Regions from separate parts of the Homo sapiens genome. Here region 2 is linked to region 1. Evidence: promoter capture Hi-C in 16 types of primary human blood cells and fetal thymus (Javierre and others, 2016). All regions are on one chromosome and are shown on one strand. The core of a region is centred on a gene start or on the middle of the fragment in contact, and the rest is flanking DNA. Distances in the headings are between cores, read along the strand shown.

What was found. The method cuts DNA at HindIII sites, captures the fragments that hold promoters and counts their contacts. A CHiCAGO score of 5 or more calls a contact.
Region 2: a contact is called between a fragment that was not itself captured here and the fragment with the promoter of AKAP5 in region 1, in 1 of 17 cell types (megakaryocytes). The highest score is 5.6, in megakaryocytes.

The regions. Positions count from the first base shown.
Region 1 is chr14:64,462,852-64,467,406 of GRCh38, reverse strand. It overlaps AKAP5 (A-kinase anchoring protein 5), which reads right to left and starts at 1,908. Exons shown (of 2, transcript NM_004857.3): 1 at 1,794-1,908. It also overlaps a transcript of ZBTB25 not described here. RefSeq lists silencers at 1,634-1,703, 1,714-2,113. The HindIII fragment of the contact is 7,002 bases long and covers 1,349-4,555 here.
Region 2 is chr14:64,348,697-64,353,251 of GRCh38, reverse strand. No RefSeq gene overlaps it. Among named protein-coding and RNA genes, the nearest start is that of MTHFD1, 37 kb to the left of the region's middle. The HindIII fragment of the contact is 7,082 bases long and covers 1-4,555 here.

The DNA.
Region 1 (4,555 bases), core at 659-3,158:
TAGTTGGAAGTCAGTAAGAGTAGTAATAGCTGACATTTATTGAGCAATTCTTGGGTATTAGGCAGTGCATGCACTTTTACATACATCTCTAATCCTCACCACAATATTACAAAGATGGTGGTATCACCACGTACAGATGAAGCAATTTGGCTGAGATTACGGCAGAGCTGTAACAGAGCTCAGATTAACACAAGATTGCTTGTTGCTTAAAGCTTATGTTCTGAAACTGGGCTTTAAGAGTTTCGTCAGAAAATGAATTGTTTGGGGATACTAATCTGCAGTGTTTCATTAGTAAAAAAATTAAAAAATTGATTAATGGTCATTTAACCATAAGGCACTTATCAACTCATAATTGAACCACGAGTAGACTGAGTTCTTGTCATTTGAAAACCAAGCTTTTGAAATTCTTTATATTTTATTTTTTTGGTTCAGGAACTAATTTAAAAGCCAAAAATAAGTTGGCAAACTATGCAATTGGCAAACTTAGATAATATAAAGGTGTATTGAAAATTTAATCCTTAGAATGGTATGATGGCACCAAAGAATGGAAATGGGAGGTGATTATCCAACAAAGATCCTATGAATTTTAGTGGGTGGATGCCCTAAAATAAGCAAAGGGACTCATTCTTTATATTGTTTTTATGTAAATCCTTCACTGAAGTTTCATTTGGGTAACCCATAATTTTATGAACTGTAGAAGGAACTGGAACCCTGAAAATCAGTTTATGATCTAAGTAAATATTATCTTAGGTTGGGTGTTTCATACTGTGTGCCTCTAACAGAAAGATAAAGTCATTCTAGAACAATGACGGAACTAAAATATGAACATTTGACAGTGTTTCTCCTCACAATGTTTCAGTGAGCACTAGAACCTAAGCTGATAACTGTTTAAATCTTCTCACCTCTTGTGAGTTTTCAGCACCTGAGCATTTTTGTTAAGCAGAGGCTGTATTACCACATAATAGAAATATTGAAATGAGATGTTTAGGAGTCTGTCATTGGAAACTAACCTGGATTGCGCAAAGACAATCGTTTGAGAAGCTCACTTGAATGTATCTCACATACTAGAAATAAAACGAATACCCAAACAGAAACTTAACTAACGAGGGAAAATAATGCAGTCTGTAGACAATAAAACTTTGCAGAATGTCAGACTGCAAATGATTCGCTCTTAACCAGCAAGGGTAGCTTTATCGCCTCAGGAAATCTTAAAGTCCCTGTGCTCATTTCCTGATGGAATTGCAAGTCTCATGTCACAGAAAACACCCCCTTTCCTTTTTCCCTTGAGCAGCCAGTACCCGAGGAAAGCAATGCATCTTTCCCAGCACCAGATACGGACCACGAAGCTTCCTCCTGGAGGAAGGAATCTCGAATTCTGGCTTGACGCCCCTTATGGCAGGAGACAGAGCGCAGGATAAAGTACTCAAAAAGGAAAATGCCGGGGGCGTGGAACAGATAACCCAGCTTCAGGCTGTCTGCAGAATTATAATGTAATGGCCAGAAACCCAAAATCACATTTCTCAAAGAGGGATAAAGAAGGAAAAAAGCCACCGGCAACCCATGCTTCTAAGACAAGCTGTAACGCGAAGGGGATAGGTGGGCAGACCTGATGAGGGTCGCCCTGGCCGCGGATTCCAGCGGACAAGCGACCTCCCGCGTTCTTACTCCCAGCACCTCAGAGGGCTCGGATACCCCGTATCCAGTGGGCACCTCTTGCCCACTCCGCGGTCCGCGGACCGGACATTGCCCCCGACCCTCCTCCCCCGCAGGCTCCCCGCCCTGCCTTTACTTACGTAGGGCGTCGGGGTCCTTGGCCAACACTGCTCCCGAGGTGGCGGCGCGCTCGCGGGGCCCGCCGCCCAGGCCTCCAGGGAGCCGCGGTCGCACCCGGAGCAAGGCGCCCTCTGCAGAGCCCGCCGCCGGGTGCGCCCCCTCCCCACCGCGCGGGGACAGACAGCAGGCAGCGCCAATGCGAGCGGAGCGGAGCGGGCGGGCAGGGGCGGGGCGACCGCCGGAGGCGCGGGGCGGCGCGGGCGCCGGGACCCACCTGCAGCAGCAGCCTGCCTGCCTGCCGCGGGGAAGCCCATCGTGCTCCGCCCGGGCGCCAATCTCCACTGCCAGACCACATCAGCGCCGAGGCGGGGACCGCAAGAGAGCCAGCCGGAAGGTTCGGGGGGCGGGGGAAGGCGGGGGGGACCAGGGCAATGAACCCCGCGTTTTCTGAGACGCTAAATAGTGAGGTCCGGTTTCAAATTATAGACAGTCGCATTACACATCTCCTCTCCTCCCCCTCAGAATATTTAAAGACAAGGCAGACATCGCATTTTAAAAGCAGGATTCAAAACTGTGCATAGAATAGCGAGGTCATGTTTGTTTGAAGCGAAAATTACATATATAAATGGAAACAGAAAGAAACCCGACTTTCTCAGGAGTGGCTTGAGTGTCAGATCATCGTGGTTCATCGCCAAACAGGCTTTCAAACCTTTGTCTCCCAGTGGGAAGCAGGTGGAGGTGATTGGTGCAGAACTTTGGCCTGCAGGAGCAGCTGCATCTCTATGCGGACAAGGTGAGAAAGGCACAGGAACCCAGCTCCATCCATCTTATACCTTACATAGTTCCAAAAATAAGTTGAGGTAGCTTACAAGTTACCCATGATTCCCTTCAGGACATTCCCTATGAGGGCATTCCTGGGAGCTCCAGCTGTAAAATCTAGTAGGATCCATCACAATCCCAGCCTCCTCCTCTGGCCCCCATAGCATAGCATCCAGATGAAGAACCTGGTAAGGTGAAGTGAAGAACTACTGAAAAGCAGCCGCGTTCATCTCCTTTCTTCAACAGGATCACGACCTTAGGGAGTGTAAATGTCAGGTGTCCATTTTTGTATTTTTTCCGGAAATGTTTTATATTTGTAAGATTCTGTAGTTTCCACAGAGGCTTATCAAGGAAAGAACTCTTGAGACACAAAAGCAAAGCCAAATATAAGCTGTCAAGATCTTAAAATTACAGATAAAAGAGGCAAGAGTTGTAAAACAGGAAAATCCATAAGCATCTAGTTTAGTTGTAATTAAGAATTCAGGGATGGGCGCAGTAGCTCACACCTGTAATCCCAGCACTTTGGGAGGCCAAGGCAGGAGGATGGCTTGAGTCCAAGAGTTTGAGACCAGCCTGGGCAACATAGGGAGACAAAAAAATCTAAAAAATTAGCTGGGCATGGTGGTGCACGTATGGTCCCAGTTACTCAGGAGCTCAGGAGGCTGAGAAGGGAGGATCACTTGGGCCCAGAAGGTCAAGGCTGCTGTGAGCCACTACTGCACCACTGCACGCCAGCCTGGGCAACAAAGTGAGACCCTGCCTCAAAAAAAAAAAAAAATTCAGTCAGCCTTGTTCACTCAGCAAACACGTCTATCGAAATGGTCTGCGTATCTCTCTATGGGTTGCTAGCGCTGCTTGTTGCCAGTTTTGAACTTTAAGCCAAAAGAAATCCATTATGCTTATAAGCAATTGAGAACTATTCCTTATTGAGATCCAAGGTTTCTCAAAACTAGCAGACCTGGGAGTTTGCAAGAGTTTCAGGCAAAAAATAAGATGAGCTTATTTAGGTGAAGACAGGGTAAAATAGCTGTCTTATTTTTATTTTTATTTGAGACAGGGTCTTGCTCAGGCTGGAGTGCAGTGGTACAATCCCTGGCTCAAGCAATCCTCCCACCTCAGCCTCCCATGCAGCTGGGACCACAGGTATGCGACCACATGCCCAGGTTCTTCTTCTTTTTTTTTTTTTTGTAGAGATGGCGTCTCCCTATGTTGCCCAGGCTGGTCTTGAACTCCTGAGCTCAAGTGATCCTCCTGCCTTGACCTCCTACAGTGCTAGGATTACAGGTGTGAGCCCCCATGCCTGGCCTTCACTTGCCTTTCTTTTAAACAAAATTAGTAAAAGGGAACTGAAAGGCAGTTTGAGGTGAGAGATGAATTTATTTAGTATTTGAAGGGCAAATTCGGACAGACTTCCTTAAGGTATATTACAAACAAGTCATCCCTGACCTCCACCAACACACATACACACAGAGTCACTCACACAGAGTATAGTACTATAAATAACATAGCGCACCATAGTTTTTCTTTAGGATATGACTAGAACTCAATGCCATATGTGTGTGTGTGTGTGTGTGTGTGTGTGTGTGTTTAATGTATCCAGTACCTCATGCATGAAAGAAACCTGTCATTCCTGAATTCAGGTAAGTGACAACGAAGGCTGTTTAAGCTATTACCCATATCATTGTCTACTACCCCATTAGTAGCTTTTCATTATATAACAGGAAATAGGCTATAAATGTATTTCTGCAATCTGATGAGAAATTATCCTACCTATAGCTTATCATGTTAATATCACTAGATACAGTGTGCCAGTAAAATAGCTTACATATTTATCTGAGCAATACTCTACTGATCTTACCATTTATCCCATCTTGATCTCTACCCATTGCCTGGGCCTATAGCTACCAAAAATGACTTATAACTCCTTGTTAATAGCTCTTACATTTCAGAGGCCTTCTGGGAA
Region 2 (4,555 bases), core at 980-3,479, 110 kb after region 1:
AAAAAAAAAAGAATTGCCTATCATAACCAAATTACGTTATAGTATTTCTATAATTGCTATGGTCCAAAGTGGAATCTTGCTCACTCATTTACCATTTACTCATTTAGTCTTTTTTTTTTTTTTTTTTCTGAGACTGAGTCTCACTCCATCACCCAGGCTGGAGTGCAGTGGCGCAATCTCGGCTCACTGCAACCTCCACCTCCCAGGTTCCAATGATTCTCCTGCCTCAGCCTCCCGAGTAGCTGGGACTATAGGTGTGTGCCACCACACCCAGCTAATTTTTGCAGTTTTTAGTAGAGATGCAGGGTTTCACCATGTTGGCCAGGCTGGTCTTGAACTCCTGACCTCGTTATCTGCCTGCCTCAGCCTCCCAAAGTGCTGGGATTATAGGCATGAGCCACTGCGCCCAGCCTTCATTTAGTCTTTTGGCTCATTCATTTGTTTATCCAATATTTATTGAGCATTCAGTTTTCTTTTCTTTTCTTTTTTGAGACGGAGTTTTGCCCTTGTTGCCTAGGCTGGAGTGCAATGGCGCGATCTTGGCTCACTGCAATCTCTGCCTCCCGAGCTCAAGCGATTCTCCTGCCTCAGTCTCCTGAGTAGCTGGGATTACAGGCATGCGCCACCACACCTGTCTAATTTTGTATTTTTAGTAGTGACAGTGTTTCTCCATGTTGTTCAGGCTGGTCTCGAACTCCCGACCTCAGATGACCAGCCCACCTTGGCCTCCCAAAGTGCTGGGATTACAGGTGTGAGCCACCATGCCCGGCCTAATAGTTTTCTTTACTAGAGTTCTTGGGTTTTCTGGATTTCACTGTATATTGTCAAATTGTTTCCTAGGAAATAATGTATTTTTAAAATTTCACTTATTTATTTTATAAATAATTTGATTCTAAAGGTGGAACAGTTTGGACCAGCTCATGGGAGAACTGTCTTTTTTTTTTTTTTTTTGAGACAGTCTTGCTCTGCCTCCCAGGCTGGAATGTGGTGTTACCATCACGATTCACTGTAGCCTCAACCTCCTAAGGCTCAAGTGCTCCTCTTGCCTCAGACTCCCGAGTAGCTGGGACCACAGGTGCACACCACTATGCCCAGCTAATTTTTGTAGAAATGGGGTCTTTCCATGTTGCTCAGGCTGGTCTTGAACTCCTTGTGGCTCAAATGATCCGCCCATCTCTGCCTCCCAAAGTACTGGAATTACAGCCTTTATTTCTTTTAGATTTTCAATTTACTGCCCCTAAGTTGCAAAATGTTCTCTTAGAATTATTTTTATCTTTGCATTCTGTATCCATTCTGTATGCATATCTATATATTCTGTATATTCCTCCTTTCTAATATTGTGTATTTTCACTTTCTCTCTTTCCTTTTTAACCAGGCTTGCCTGAGGCATCTATTTTATCTTTCCAAAGAACCAGTGGTTCTTTTTGAGACAGGGTCTGGCTCTGTCTATTGTCCAGGCTGGAGTGCAGTGGCATGATTATGGCTCACTGAAGCCTCAACCTTCAGGGCTCCAGTGATCCTCCTGCCTCAGCCTCCCAGATAGCTGGAACTATAGGTGCACGCCTCCACGCCTGGCTAGCTTTTTGAAGTTTTTGTAGAGATGAGGTTTCGCCATGTTGCCCAGGCTGGTCTCAAACTGCTGAGCTCAAGTGATTCTCCCGCCTCGGCCTCCCAAAGTGCTAGTATTACAGGCATGATTCACCGTGCCTGGCCAGTTCTTTTTTTAAAATATACGTTTTATGGCCTGGCACGCTGGCTCACCCTGTAATCCCAGCATTTTGGGAGGCTGAGGTGGGCAGATCACTTGAGGTCAGGAATTCGAGACCAGCCTGACCAACGTGGTAAAACCCTGTCTCTACTAAAAATGCAAAAGTTAACTGGGCATGGTGGTGTGCACCTCTAATCTCAGCTACTTGGGAGGCTGAGGCAGGAGAATCACTTGAACCAGGGAGGTGGAGGTTGCATTGAGCTGAGATTGTGGCACTGCACTCCAGCCTGGGCAACAGAGCGAGACTGTCTCAAAAATAAATAAATAAATAAATAAATACACATTTTATTAGTTTATTTTGGTTTATATGTAATGAATATATATAGTATGTTTATTAAATCTGCACCCTACTTTCTCTTTTCCCTTCTTAAGTAAATGTGCTTTTTTTGTCTTTTGTTTTTAAATCAGAAAAAGAGTAAGTACTATTGAATGTTCCTCTGTAGCTTGTCCAATAGATTTTTATAAGAAATGTTTCTTTTCACTGTGTTCTATGTATTTTTGTAATTTTAGTGTTGATTTCCATTTTTTGGCTGAAGGTATTCAGAATTTTTGTTTGTTTGTTTTTTGTTTTTGAGACGGAGTTTCACTCTTGTTGCCAAGGCTGGAGTGAAGTGGTGCAATCTCGGCTCACTGCAACCTCTGCCTCCCAGATTCAAGCAATTCTCCTGCCTCAGCCTCCCTAGTAGCTGGGATTACAGGTGTGCACCACCATGCCCAGTGAATTTTTGTATTTTTAGTAGAGGTGGGGTTTCACCACCTTGGCCAGGCTGGTCTCGAATTCCTGACCTCAGGTGATCCCCATGCCTCGACCTCCCAAAGTGCTGGGATTACAGGCGTGAGCCACCGCACCCAGCCTAGAATTTTTTTAACCCTTTATACACACACACACACACACACACACACACACTTTTCAAAATCAAATATACCAAGAGTCTTTTATTGAAAAGGAGCAGCCCTCTTCTGTACCTCTCTTATTTCCCAGAGGGAACTCTTTAACTCTTTTAGCTGTTTCTGATAGTAACTTCCATTTTCCTAAACAATTTTAAACTGCCTTATCTCGAGTTATCTATATTAGACATGTTGTTGATTTCCTGTTATATGATAGATGAAATTTCATCTCTCATACCACTTTCCTACCTGCTCCTTTCATCTTCCCAATCTGGTTATATTGATATTTTAAGCTAAATGCATAATCAGCATTTACTTTACCGTGATACTAAATGTTTACAAAAGCATGAAGTACTATATTCTTGGTACATTTTCTTTCTTGTATTGCATTTTATTTTTCCTACAGTTAATACCTTCCTTATATTTTCATACGTTTAATTTTCAGTGTTCATTTATCAAGGTTTTTTTCCTGCCTAAATCTGTATCAGATGATCCTTTAGTCTTTAAAAATCTCCCATTTTTTCTCTCCCAAAGTCCTTCATTCCCTTGCTTCAGTCTGGATTTTACTCTGTGGGCCTGAGCACAGCCATGATGCCATGACTTTCCTTCTCTAATCTCCTGGTTAGGTTTCATTGTTTGCCGAATCACATTTCTTCCTCTTTTTTGGTTTCCTTTCTTATTTTACTGGAACACATCCTCCAATGGCTTCCTAAGAAATGGTGCCTTGGAGAGCGACATTTTTTGAGGTCCTTGTGTGAATGACAATGTCTTTTTTTGTTTGAATCATCATACTCAATTGATAGCTGGGTTTAGACTTTATTTTCACACACGGACTTCATTGTCTTCTAATCTCTAGGGTTGTTATTGAGGAAAATATGCCATTCTGATTCTTGTTCCTTAATATGTTATTTCTTGTAATGGATTAAAACATTTACCATAACTTTTTTGTAATAACATTTTATAACTAATTTTTTTCTCATAATAAAATTAATTCAGCTGGGCATAGTGGCTCATGTCCGTAATTCCAGCACTTAGGGAGGCTGAGGTGGGTGGATAGCTGGAACCCAGGAATTTGAGATCAGCCTGGACAACATGGCAACACCCCATCTCTACAAAAAATTTAAGAACTAGCCAGGCATGGTGCACACTTGTAGTCCCAGTTACTGGGGAGGCTTAGGTGGGAGGATGGGTTGAGCACGGGAGGTCGAGGCTGCAGTGTGCTGTGATTGCACCACTGCACTCCAGCCTGAGCGGCAGGGTGAGACCCTGTCTCAAAAAATTAAAAAATCATGTGTATTAGTGAAGATTTGTAAAGTAGAAAATAATAGAAATAAAATTGAAATCACCAGTAATCCCACCATTTTGCGATAACTAGTATTAAATATAGGTATATTTCCCTCTGATTATTTTCCATGTATATTTTTATCATCATTGAGATGTACATAGTTTTTCTTAATCCTGCTTTTTTCATTAACTACATCATTGTTAATTTTTCTTAATAAATATTTTTGAAAACTTAATTTCTAGGGAATAATCTATCATATAATAATTTTTCTTTTTTGACATTTGCATTGTTTCAGTTTTTTCTATTATGAATAATGTTGTAAAGAATATCTTTGTGGGCCAGGTGCGGTGGCTCATGCCTGTAATCTCAGCAGTTTGGGAGGCCAAGGTGGGCGGATCACCTGAGGTCAGGAGTTTGCGATCAGCCTGGCCAACATGGTGAAACCCTGTCTCTACTAAAAATAAAAAAATTAGCCAGGCATGGTGACAAGCGCCTGTAATTCCAGCTACTCGGGAAGCTGAGGCTGGGGAATCACTTGAACCTAGGAGGCGGAGATTGCATTTAGCCAAGATTATGCCATTGCACTCCAGCCTGGGCCACAAGAGCGAAACTCT